Regions from separate parts of the Homo sapiens genome. Here regions 1, 2 and 4 are each linked to region 3. The links are contacts of gene promoters, found by promoter capture Hi-C in blood cells and fetal thymus (Javierre and others, 2016). All regions are on one chromosome and are shown on one strand. Each heading gives the region's core, a stretch centred on a gene start or on the middle of the fragment in contact. The rest is flanking DNA. Distances are from core to core; before and after follow the strand shown. Region 1 overlaps EZH1 (enhancer of zeste 1 polycomb repressive complex 2 subunit). Region 2 holds the start of COA3 (cytochrome c oxidase assembly factor 3). Region 3 holds the start of PSMC3IP (PSMC3 interacting protein). Region 4 overlaps EZH1 (enhancer of zeste 1 polycomb repressive complex 2 subunit).

The links. The method cuts DNA at HindIII sites, captures the fragments that hold promoters and counts their contacts. A CHiCAGO score of 5 or more calls a contact.
Region 1: a fragment that was not itself captured here is called in contact with the fragment with the promoter of PSMC3IP in region 3 in 5 of 17 cell types (megakaryocytes, M2 macrophages, erythroblasts and 2 more); the score reaches 11.1 in megakaryocytes.
Region 2: a contact is called between the fragment with the promoter of COA3 here and the fragment with the promoter of PSMC3IP in region 3, in 1 of 17 cell types (endothelial precursors). The highest score is 5.1, in endothelial precursors.
Region 4: a fragment that was not itself captured here is called in contact with the fragment with the promoter of PSMC3IP in region 3 in 6 of 17 cell types (megakaryocytes, erythroblasts, M2 macrophages and 3 more); the score reaches 8.9 in megakaryocytes.

What each region holds. Positions count from the first base shown.
Region 1 is chr17:42,712,956-42,715,850 of GRCh38, reverse strand. EZH1 (enhancer of zeste 1 polycomb repressive complex 2 subunit) reads left to right here. Exons shown (of 21, transcript NM_001991.5): 11 at 2,462-2,642. It also overlaps the pseudogene RPL34P30. Among named protein-coding and RNA genes, the nearest start is that of MIR6780A, 6.3 kb to the right of the region's middle. The HindIII fragment of the contact is 9,418 bases long and covers 1-2,895 here.
Region 2 is chr17:42,797,119-42,800,192 of GRCh38, reverse strand. COA3 (cytochrome c oxidase assembly factor 3) reads left to right here and starts at 1,489. Exons shown (of 2, transcript NM_001040431.3): 1 at 1,489-1,725; 2 at 2,026-2,568. The coding sequence starts at 1,512. The coding sequence ends at 2,132. CNTD1 (cyclin N-terminal domain containing 1) reads right to left here and starts at 1,332. Exons shown (of 7, transcript NM_173478.3): 1 at 957-1,332. The coding sequence starts at 1,125. RefSeq lists enhancers at 1,477-1,526, 1,547-1,596, 1,737-1,806. The HindIII fragment of the contact is 5,104 bases long and covers 1-2,614 here.
Region 3 is chr17:42,576,452-42,579,365 of GRCh38, reverse strand. It overlaps PSMC3IP (PSMC3 interacting protein), which reads left to right and starts at 1,637. Exons shown (of 8, transcript NM_016556.4): 1 at 1,637-1,713; 2 at 1,805-1,905; 3 at 2,064-2,153. The coding sequence starts at 1,680. RefSeq lists an enhancer at 1,286-1,375 and a silencer at 1,676-1,725. The HindIII fragment of the contact is 6,888 bases long and covers 691-2,914 here.
Region 4 is chr17:42,737,310-42,740,456 of GRCh38, reverse strand. The region is part of intron 1 of EZH1 (enhancer of zeste 1 polycomb repressive complex 2 subunit); the gene reads left to right. Among named protein-coding and RNA genes, the nearest start is that of EZH1, 6.2 kb to the left of the region's middle. The HindIII fragment of the contact is 9,431 bases long and covers 1-3,147 here.

The DNA of each region.
Region 1 (2,895 bases), core at 292-2,791, 140 kb before region 3:
GGTCTTGAACTCCCAACCTCAGGTGATCAGACTGCCTGGCCTCCCAAAGTACTGGGATTACAGGTGTAATAAGGCGCCCGGCCTTGTTATGTCTTTTTACTCGTTTTTAATCTCAAATAATTCTATCACTTTTAAAATCTTTTTAAAAGTTCCAGGCTGGTTGTCTTGTAGGATGACCCACATCCTGGATTCATCTGTTGTTTTTTCACAGTGTCATTTCTGTGTTCTTCTGTCTCCTCTTTCTTATAACCTAGAAATTAGGTCTGGAAACTTGATTTTATTTATGTTAAAATGTTTGGCCATTATATTAAAATGGTGGCTCACGCCTGTAATCCCAGCAATTTGGGGGGCTGAAGCATGTGGATAGCTTGAGCCTAGGAGTTCGAGACCAGCCTGGGCAACATGGCAAAACCCCATGTCTATAAAAAATACAAAAATTAGCTGGACTGGACTTGGGAGGCTGAGGTGGGAGGATCAGTTGAGCCTAGAAGGTCAAGGCTGCAGTGAGCTGAGATCATGCTACTGTACTCACCTGGGTGACAGGGCAAGACCTCGTCTCAAAAAAATATATATATATATAAATACATATAATCTATTATATATTATATTATATATAAATACATATAATCTATAATATATATTATATATAAATACATATAATCTATGATATATATTATATATAAATACATATAATCTATAATATATAATATATAAATACATATAATCTATTATATATAATATATAAATACATATAATCTATAATATATAAATACATGTAATATATAGTATATAAATACATATATAATATATAAATTATATTTACATAAATTATATATATTTTATATTTATATAAATTATATATAAATATATTTATATAAATTTCATATATTTATATATTATATAAATATATATTTTATATTTATATAAATTATATAATTATATAATATATTTCCATATTATATATTATATATATAATATATAAAAATTATATGTAAATATATATAAATGTTTAAAATAGTATAATTGATACTGTATACTTCATACACAGCATAGGCACATAATATCAGGTTCAGTTAATTTTGAAACTTCTCTTTTGGAATTTCCTTTAGGCCTTACTGTATATTATTCCAAATTCCAGATACCCTTAATGATAGTTAACCTTTATTTTTTTTTCATTTTTATTACTCAAAAAAACTTCATTTTTAAATTGAGCTTTCTGACTCTGCTTGTGCCTTCAACACTTTCACAACAATTTTCTGCTGCTTGCTAAGGAAAGCACACTTGCTCCTGCACCAATACATTCAGCACACACGGATCCACCATAGGCCCTGCTGACATGCTTTTTTGTTTTGGACAATCTCATAGGAACTTTAGGTCTCATAGCACAAACCCCCCGAAGTCTGCTGGGCACACGCCACATGCAGATTTCAGTGCTTTCCCAACCCTCTTGGTATAAAGGTAATCAATTCTATTACCAGGGGCTCAGGACAGCCTAGTTTTGTTAAAAGCTATATTGTAGGAAAGCCTACATGTATGTCAAATGCTGGACCATTCTGAGTGCCTCTAGACAATGTCACTGGAAGATAAACCTTTATTTTGTAGAAATAGATTTAGTTTTCAGAAACAGCTAGGAAGTCTTTGAAAACCAAGTCTGATGAGAAAATATTGATGATCTAGGTGAGTGATAATTATTTCATTTTTTAAAAAAGGGGGTGATAGCTGTAAAATAATGAAACAATATTCTTCTGAGTTTCATACACAGATTTGGGAGGAAGTTTCAAAATTAAGTAGTAAGATTGTACAGATTAAGCATTACACATTTTATTAAGGAAACAGAGAAAGTGTGGTAGACTGGAAAGAATAGTGGCCTAGGGAGACAAGGAGCCCTGATTCCTATACCCCTCTGGAACTATTAGCTGCATACTCTCAAGCTAGTTTCTTCCCCTCTCTGAATCTCATTTCTTCATCCATAGGAGAATGTGTTCTCAAATTCCAAACAAGTAACACGCAAGTTAATTTTAGATACAACTCACTGGAAAATTGAAGACACAGATGCATAGATTATATCTTTTTTAAGATTATAGGACATTAGCTGGGCATGGTGACATGTGCGTGTGGTCCTAGCTACTTGGGAGGCTGAGGCAAGGGAATCACTTGAGCCCAGGAATTCGAGGCTGCAGTGAGCAGGCCTCTGCACTCCATCCTGGGCAAGAGAGAGAGACCCTGTCTCAAAAAAACAAACAAACAAAAAAACATTATAGGACAACTCTTTTGTGAAAAAGTACGTAAGTTTTGTTAAGCAGCTCTCATTGTTATATGATCATACTTATTATATGGTACAGAGAAAAAGAAAAGACACTATTATTGTAGACAGATGTTGTAAAGATGAAAGTTTGTGATGATGAGATCAATATGGTGATGGGCCTGTTCCTATTTCCTGTCTGTAATGTGTCCACTGCAGGAAGGAGCAAAGGAGTATGCCATGCTCCACAACCCCCGCTCCAAGTGCTCTGGTCGTCGCCGGAGAAGGCACCACATAGTCAGTGCTTCCTGCTCCAATGCCTCAGCCTCTGCTGTGGCTGAGACTAAAGAAGGAGACAGTGACAGGGACACAGGCAATGACTGGGCCTCCAGTTCTTCAGGTACGATGAACAGAAAATGAAGACTTTTTCTTTCCATGCAAGGACTCTGGTAAACCCAGGATCACTGCCTGACACTTAACTTTACTACCTCTTAAAAATTATAAATTCTTTCTACAAGTTTTGTAAACAGTAAAGATGGGGAATATTTTCTTTTTTTTTTTTTTTTTTTTTGAAACAGTCTCTCGCTTTTTTGCCCAGGCTGGAGTGCAGTGGTGCTATCTTGGCTCACTGCAACCTCCACCTCCCAGGTTCA
Region 2 (3,074 bases), core at 240-2,739, 220 kb before region 3:
TAACCATAGTACCTAGTCATTGCATATTTGTTCTAATATCTCCCCCAAATTGCACATGGTTTGAAGGCAAGACCTCTATCTCTATTTCATCTTTCTTTTCTCTTTTTTTTTTTTTTTTTTTTTAGACAGAGTCTCGCTCTGTCACCCGTCACTCAGGCTGGAGTGTAGTGGCGCCATCTCAGCTCACTGCAAGCTCCGCCTCCCGGGTTCATGCCATTCTCCTCCCTCAGCCTCCGGAGTAGCTGGGACTACAGGCGCCCGCCACCACACCCGGCTTTTTTTTGTATTTTTAGTAGAGACGGGGTTTCACCATGTTAGCCAGGATGGTCTCGATCTCCTGACCTCGTGATCTGCCCGCCTCAGCCTCCCAAAATGCTGGGATTACAGGCGTGAGCCACCGCGCCCAGCCTTTTTTTTTTTTTTTTTTTTTTTTTTTTTTTGAGACGGAGTTTCATTCTTGTCGTCTAGGCTGAAGTGCAATGGCACGATTTCGGCTCACTGCAACTTCCGCCTCCTGGGTTCAAACAGTTCTCCTGTCTCAACCTCCCGAGTAGCTGGGATTAGAGGTGCGCGCCACCAGTCCTGGCTAATTTTTGTACTTTTAGTAGAGACAGGATTTCACCATGTTGGTCAGGCTGGTCTCGAACTCCTGACCTCAGGTGAACCTCCCACCTCAGCCTCCCAAAGTGCTGGGATTACAGGTGTAAGCCACCATGCCTGGCCCTCTATTTCATCTTTCTAGCCAAGCGGTGCCACTCAAGTATTCCATACATGTCGAAGAAATCAAGGGGAGGGCACTGTTGTGACTTATCCATCACTATATCCCCAGCACCCCACAGAGAGGTGTTAGCAAACATTCTCTGAATGAATAAAATCAACGGAATCTCAAGGTCGGTGCCTGAAAGACACAAGCCCCAGTCTCCCAAGAACCCAGCACCCCGGCCCTGCAGCCGCACCCACGATCTGGGGCTCCCTGAAGCGGCCCAGCCGCCCCGAAGCCTCCCTCACTGCTTGCTCATTCTGCTGGGCCAAGTGAAGCAGGGCGTCTTCAATCGTCTCTGTGGCGACAACTCCAAACTGAAAGTCAACGAGGGAGGCCGATCGTGGCCTCATGGGTCCGTCCATATTCACGAGCCTCTTGGGGCACCTGGACGGGTTCACTGGATCCACATACCGACCCCCTTAGCTCCTCTCCAGTCTTCTGCCACACCCTGGATTCCTCGTCCCCTTCCAATGAGTGTGTCGTCGCCTCAAGTCTGAGGAAAACCCAATTACCACCACAGCCTCGAACCCTCCACAGCTTTTTCCCGCCCCAACGGCCACGGACTCCTCAGCCAATCAGAAAGCACGTCCGCTTCTCACCTCCCGCGTCCATCCCCTGTGCCCGGGAACCGCGGCTCTGCCCCGCAAAGGGCACGCGGACTACAACTCCCAGAGTCCACTGCAGCGGCCAAGGGCTACTGTTCCCAGCGAGGCCCGCGCGGCGGCACCGCGAAGGGAGGAGTGGCAACATGGCGTCTTCGGGAGCTGGTGACCCTCTGGATTCTAAGCGTGGAGAGGCCCCGTTCGCTCAGCGTATCGACCCGACTCGGGAGAAGCTGACACCCGAGCAACTGCATTCCATGCGGCAGGCGGAGCTTGCCCAGTGGCAGAAGGTCCTACCACGGCGGCGAACCCGGAACATCGTGACCGGCCTAGGCATCGGGGCCCTGGTGTTGGCTATTTGTATCCGTCCGTGTTGTAGACTCAAGGGGACCGCATATAGGGGCAGGGGAACAGAGTGTGCAAGAGGGCTGAACCACCCGTTTAATTTTGGGGTAAAATGGGTAGTACTTTCCTTTGTTATTCCTAAGGTACTCTTTTAATTTGATTTATTAATAATAACGGAATTGGGGTTCAGGGTTTAGAAACAGCAGCGGCGGGAAGCCGGAATCACTGATTTGGGAGAGTAACAAGAGTGGTAGAGCAAATCTAGGAAAGGGGAATGTGCATATTCTGTGTGGTTTCCTGAACCTACCTCCCCAGATGGTTACACCTTCTACTCGATTTCCCAGGAGCGTTTCCTAGATGAGCTAGAAGACGAGGCCAAAGCTGCCCGAGCCCGAGCTCTGGCAAGGGCGTCAGGGTCCTAATCTGGATGGGTATTGATCATGTCCAACCTGCTGGAGCCCCTTCACATGGTGGATGATGCCCCATGACCCTGTAGAAATTGAATCCTGCTCACAACATTGTTGGCCTTCTTACTAACCTTGGACCGTGATTGAGCCCAAGAAACCAGGGACTTACGCATTTGGCCAATGTCAAAAGAACAGAACTTTGCCCACTGCACACTTGCTGTGTACAATGACTGAGCCCTTTCTTGTAGTTTGTTTCCTTGTTTGAGAGGTGTGCATGCGACCGTGGCTTTTCCCAAAGTTTCTGACTTTGTGGTTTACCCCCTTCACCTTCCAGGGACGCAGTTGTTACGAGGTTAGACGTGGCAGCTCTGTGCAGTGTTTGAGCCTACAGTGGGATACATAGGGTCAAATTGAGAATAATAAACTGAGTCATTCTCCTGGAGTCAAGTGAGTATGGAGGCTGAGAGGCAGCATATGGCACTTCATGCTGGAAAGCTTCACAAGCAGTAGCTGCAGTGGTGGCATTGCCCCAGGGAGCTGTAAATGTTTAACTAGAATTACTTTTTCCATGAGATCTTTCCACCTGATTTAAGGGAGAGATCACTGGGCAGTTTGAGACTGAACCCACGTCTTAGGGGAAGGAAGGTCACTCTTCTGTCCTCTACCCACAAGAACATACTGTAACTCTACTGCTTTTCCCATCCCCAGAGAGAGGGAGGGAGAGAGAGGTGGATGAAGGGTGAAAGACAAGCAGTCTTCATTCTTTTAACTTTCCCTGGTACCTGCCTATACAGGTCTAGGGTGGGGTCTGGAGGGGATCCTAACTTAGTCAAGTGGATCACTGACCTTGCAGTTTCCTCATTAACTGATGGCAGGAAGCCAGAGGGCTGGGCAGCTTCCACCCCTGCCTCCCATTGTGAAAAGAAAGTCCCTTTTAAATCCTCCCCTGCCTCACCC
Region 3 (2,914 bases), core at 388-2,887:
GGCCAGAACATCACCATAGTATGAGGCTACTTTCCTTCTTGTGAGAGCCCCACCATCAGTATAACTGGCACTCTTGGCTAGTATTTAGCCTGTATTTCCTTCATTTCTAATTTCTTTTTTTTTCCTGAGACGGAGTCTTGGTCTGTCGCCCAGGCTGGAGTGCAGTGGTGCGATCTCTCACTGCAAGCTCCGCCTCCCGGGTTCACGCCATTCTCCTGCCTCAGCCTCCTGAGTAGCTTGGACTACAGGCGCCCACCAGCACGCCTGGCTAATTTTTTGTATTTTTAGTAGAGATGGGGTTTCACAGTGTTAGCCAGGATGGTCTCGATCTCCTGACCTCGTGATCCGCCCGCCCTGGCCTCCCAAAGTGCTGGGATTGCAGGCGTGAGCCACCGCGCTCGGCCCTTTCATTTCTAATTCTTAATATTGTCTCCTAAACGTGCAGAGACAAGCACACGTTTTAAAGGCTAAGGAGGTTGTAGGTAGCAGAAGGCTTTAAAAAGTAGCACCTTACTCCTTCACTGGATGGTCTGAGCTGCAGGGACAGCTGCTCTTTGGCCTTCAGCTCACCTCAGAAACTAGAAATATTTATTTCAGGCTCTGTCCCATTGGCCACTGTGGTCAGGGGTGGAAAGCACCTGCCAGGTGTTGCCCTGAGATTGTCTGGGCTAACAAACTTTTCCACAAGCTTTGTGGTTGAACAGTAGCCCCCTCCTAACCCTATCGTTCCTTGGCGTCCAAACTACAGTAGGTGTCGAGTGCCCCCTGGGTGCGAAGCTCGGTATTAGGCAAATAAGGGTGGTTGCTCTCCAAGGCGCTTAGCTGTCCCCCCTTCCCACTTTTTTTTTTTTTGTTCGAGACTGCGTCTCGCTCTGTCGCCAGGATGGGGTGCAGTGGCGCGCTCATAGTGGCTCACTGCAGCCTCGATGTCCGGGGCTCTGGTGACCCTCCCACCTCAGCCTCCAGAGTAGCTGGGACCACAGAAGCGCGCCACCACTCTTAATTTTTTGTACTTTATTTGCAGAGATGGGGTTTCATATTGCCCAGACTGGTTTCGAATTCCTGGGCTCAAACGATCCGCCCGCCTCAGCCTCCCAAAGTGATAGAATTGCAGGGGTGACATGCCACTGCGCCCGACCAAGGCGCTTAGCTTTCTATTAAGTTTTCACAACCACTTTCCTACCACTATCTACTGTTCCTATTTTACAAATGACAAAACTAACCGACAAAAGAGCACTGGACCGTGGGACCAGAGCACGTCCCTGTGGGGTAACCTTGAGCTGGTCGCTTGCCCAGGGCGGCAGCGGATGTCTGAAGCGTCTTCCAATCCCAACATTAGACTTAATTCAAGGTCACCAGTGCTCAGCTGCGGCTGGAACTGGGTCTCGAAACTTGAAGGCCTTCTCTGCTACAGCCTTCGTTCCCGGGAGCAGAAAGAGGAAGTTTCTTAGCCGTGGGCACGCCGGCGCCTTCGCAGAGGCCCATGGCTTGAGGTCCGGCCCGAATGCGCAAGTTCCGACCTGAAATGAACTATGGAGTCCGGGAGGGGTCGCTTTGCTCCTCCGGAAGGCTTCCCCTTCAGCCAATCACCGTTCGAGGCCCGCCCCCGTCGCCGGAAGGAGCCGTCGCCCCGAGCAACTACAACGTCCGGCTTTCTGAGTTGGGTGGCGGGAAAGGCGATGAGTAAAGGCCGGGCAGAAGCTGCGGCGGGAGGTAACGGCGCCGTGGGCGCGGGGAAGACCCGGGAGGGCAGTGGGTGAGGAGGTCGGTTGAGTGGCCCCCTCCCCTGCCTTTCTCTCCGTAGCCGCCGGGATCCTCCTGAGGTACCTGCAGGAGCAGAACCGGCCCTACAGCTCCCAGGATGTGTTCGGGAACCTACAGCGGGAACACGGACTGGGCAAGGCGGTGAGGACCTTCTCCCGGGATTCCCTCTCCGTCGGACTCCCTGGATTCAGGCTGGGGTCGTGCCCTTTGGAGCCTTGGGCGTTTTCCACATCACTGGCTGGATTTCCCCAGACCCAGGCTCAGACTCCTCTGATTGCTCCTTCTCTCTCCTCTGCCAGGTGGTGGTGAAGACGCTGGAGCAGCTGGCGCAACAAGGCAAGATCAAAGAGAAGATGTACGGCAAGCAGAAGATCTATTTTGCGGATCAGGTGAGGAGAACTTGCGCCGATTGTCACCCATGAGAGCCCGACAACGGGTGAATCTACTCCTGGTGTGAACTCTTTGGGGACAAGGCCCCCCATGGAAAACTCACCTGTCTTAGGCCACCATCCTTAAATCAAGGTGTGTACTCCTCTTGTTAGGATCCCAACTTCACGAGGTTTCCAGATTTACAATATGATGGATGACAGAAGATTCTGTATTGTTGCTACCAAGATCCATTTCCGCTCCAAAGCTCTTATTCCTTATCATCTACATTAGCAACACCCTCTGCCAAATGATGTTCCTCCTGCCTCCATCCGATTCTCTAAACACACATATCAAATTTATATTCTCCAGCCCAGACCTCCAGCTGGAATCTGTCAGGCATTAATATCAGAGTCAAAATTGCCACAGTAGAATGCCTCATCTTCCCCCCACCCCGGACTGGTTTCTTTCTAACATTCTCCTCCCCTAATGGAATTACTCTTCACCCAAACCAGAAATTGGGAGCAATTCTTGACTTCCTTTACTAGTCAACCATCAAGTCCAGCTGATTTTTCCGTTTTTATTTATTTTTTTAATTTTTATAGAGATGGGTCTTACTGTGCTGCCCAGGTTGGTCCCAACTCCTGGGCTCAAGTGATCCTCCTGTCTTGGCCTCCCAAAGTGCTGGGAGGACAGGCGTGAACCACAGAGCCTGGCTAATTTTTCCATTCTTGAATCCACTCTCCTTTCCATCTGCCATGGTTGCTCTAGTTCACGCCCTCTT
Region 4 (3,147 bases), core at 66-2,565, 160 kb before region 3:
AGATCATCCTGGCCAACATGGTGAAACCTGTCTCTACTGAAATGCAAAAATTAGCTGGGCGTGGTGGCTTGCACCTGTAGTCCCAGCTACGCGGGAGGCTGAGGCAGGAGAATCGCTTGAACCCGGGAGGCGGAGGTTGCAGTGAGCTGAGATTGCACCACTGCACTCCAGCCTGGCAACAGAGCAAGACTCCGTTTCAAAAAAAAAAAAAAAGATCTTGTCTCCACTGAAAATATAAAAAATTAGCCAGGCATGGTGGCATGTGCCCGTAGTCCCAGCTACTAGGGAGGCTGGGGCCAAAGGATCCCTTGAGCCTGGGAGGTCGAAGTGCAGTGAGCTATGATCATGCCTGGTCGGCAGAGTGGGACCCTTTCTCAAAAAACAAAATAAAATGAAATAAAATTAAACCAGAGTTATAAATCCTGTGAGCCAGCATTTTCCTTTGGGTCTCATAAAAACTAATCCTGTTTATGGTGAAACCCTGTCTCTACTGAAAACACAAAAAATTAGCTGGGCATGGTGGTGGGCACCTGTGATCCCAGGTACTCGGGAGGCTGAGGCAGGAGAATGGCGTGAACCTGGGGGATGGAGCTTGCAGTGAGCCAAGATCGCGCCACTGCACTCCAGCCTGGGCGACAGCGCGAGACTCTGTCTCAAAAAAAAAAAAACTAATCCTGTTTAGATTTTTGTTACCATTACCTCCAGTGCATACGATCTAATTTTTTTTTTGAGACAGAATTTCACTCTTGTTGCTCAGACTGGAGTGCAATGGCACGATCTCAGCTCATTGCAACCTCTGCCTCCTGGGTTCAAGCGATTCTCCTGCTTCAGCCTCCCGAGTAGCTGGGATTACAGGCATCCACCACCATGCCCGGCTAATTTTGTATTTTTAGTAGAGACGGGGTTTCTGCATGTTAGGCTGGTCTCGAACCCCTGTCCTCAGGTGATCCACTCGCCTTGGCCTCCCAAAGTGCTGGGATTACAGGTGTGAGCTACTGCACCCAGCTGATCTGATTCTCTTAATTAAGCAACACTAGGAAATACTAATGTTATAATTTTATTTTAAATTAGAATTCAGAGTCACAGGTTCCTGTTAGGAAGGTTCTTTCTGTGTGTAGTGCCCAGAAGCTCAAACTAATGACAGATGAAAATACCTCAGAGAAGTTGGAGGGTATAAATTAGAGATGTGCTTTATAGATCCTAACTGAGAGATCAGGCTGTGTACCTAGTCACAGAATTGATTTTAATTGAAATGTTGATGAAATTGGTGATCACCAGAATGACCCAAAGGTGTGTTACTAGAGCTCTTTGCAGGGATAGGTTCACCCCTATCATTCAGGTTTCAATTACACTATGAATCAAAAAAGGAATAGGATGAAATATTTAAAAATATAGGCCAGGGGCCAGGCGTGGTAGCTCACGCCTGTAATCCCAGCACTTTGGGAGGCCGAGGCAGGTGGATCACGAGGTCAGGAGATGGAGACCATCCTGGCCAACATGGTGAAACCCCGCCTCTACTAAAAATACAGAAATTAACCCGGCTTGGTGGCGAGCATAGTCCCAGCTACTCAGGGGGGGTGGAGGCAAGAGAATCGCTTGAACCCAGGAGGTGGAGATTGCAGTGAGCTGAGATAGCACCACTGCACTCCAGCCTGGGTGACAGAGTGAGACTCCTTCTCAAAAAAAAAAAAAAAAAAAAAATCTAGGCCAGGCCCGGTGGCTTACGCCTGTAATCCCAGCACTTTGGGAGGCCAAGGTGGGTGAATTACCTGAGGTTAGGAGTTCCAGACCAGCCTGGCCAAGATGGTGAAACCCTGTCTCTACTAAAAATACAAAAATTAGCTGGGGCAGAGGTTGCAGTGAGCTGTTATTGCACCAACGCACTCCAGCCTGGCAACAGAGTGAGACTCCATCTCAAAAAAAAATAAAAAAAATAGACTGGGCACGGTGGCTCACGTCTGTAATCCCAGCAGAGCGAGATTCCGTCTCAAAAAATAATAATAAATACAAATAATAAATACAAATAAATAAAATTAAAAAATAAAAATCTGTAGTGCCATCTGCCTCCAAAGGCTTACTTAGCCTTGCTGGTTAATAAAATTATTATTCAAGAGAAACTATCAAAGACACTGAATTTGCCCCTAAGACAAAGAAGCTGTTTCTGCAAAGGGACACCTTATGTAGATGAAAAAATTTAATAGTTTGGAACTTTTGTATTCTGATCTCAGTCTCTCTAAGTTTAAGAACTTGTTCCTTAAATTTTTTTTTTTTTTTTTTTTTTGAGACAGAGTCTTGCTCTGTCGCCCAGGCTGGAGTTCAGTGGCACCGTCTCGGCTCACTGCAAGCTCCGCCTCCTGGGTTCACGCCATTCTCCTGCCTCAGCCTCCTGAGTAGCTGGGACTACAGGTGCCCGCCACCATGCCCAGCTAATTTTTTGTATTTTTAGTAGAGACGGGGTTTCACTGTGTTACCCAGGATGGTCTTGATCTCCTGACCTCGTGATCCGCCTGTCTCGGCCTCCCAAAGTGCTGTGATTGCAGGCGTGAGCCACCGCACCCAGCCGTTCCTTAAATTTTTTATTGCCATACAATTTCAGTAATGTTTTCCCATTTCCACCTAGTGACAGACTACATTCTAGTTTTAGCCTTTGCAGCAAATTGAGATCCAGTTTTCTGGGGAAAGATTGCTACATTTTTATAGCTTTCTTTTCCTGTAGAGATGTGACAGTAAATAAAGTGGTTCGTATTTCCAATGATTAATCTTTTTAAAAAATAAACTCTATTTTTTAGAATAGTTTGTTTTTTAAGAAAGAAAAAAAAGAAAGAATAGTTTGTTTGTTTTTGGTTTGTTTGAAACAGGGTCTCACTCTGTCACCCAGGCTGGAGTGCAATGGCGCAGTCACAGCTTGCTCCTGCAGCCTTGATCGTGCAGGCTCCATCTGTCTTCTCACCTCAGCCTCCCTGGTAGCTGGGACTAGAAGCACACGCCACCATGCCCAACTAATTTTTGTATTTCTTTTGTAGAGATGGGATCTCACCATGTTGTCCAGGCTGGTCTCGAACAACTGGGCCCAAGAGATCCACCTGCCTCAGCCTCCAAAAGTGTTGGAATTTCAGGCATGAGCCATCACGCCTGCCCTAGAATAGT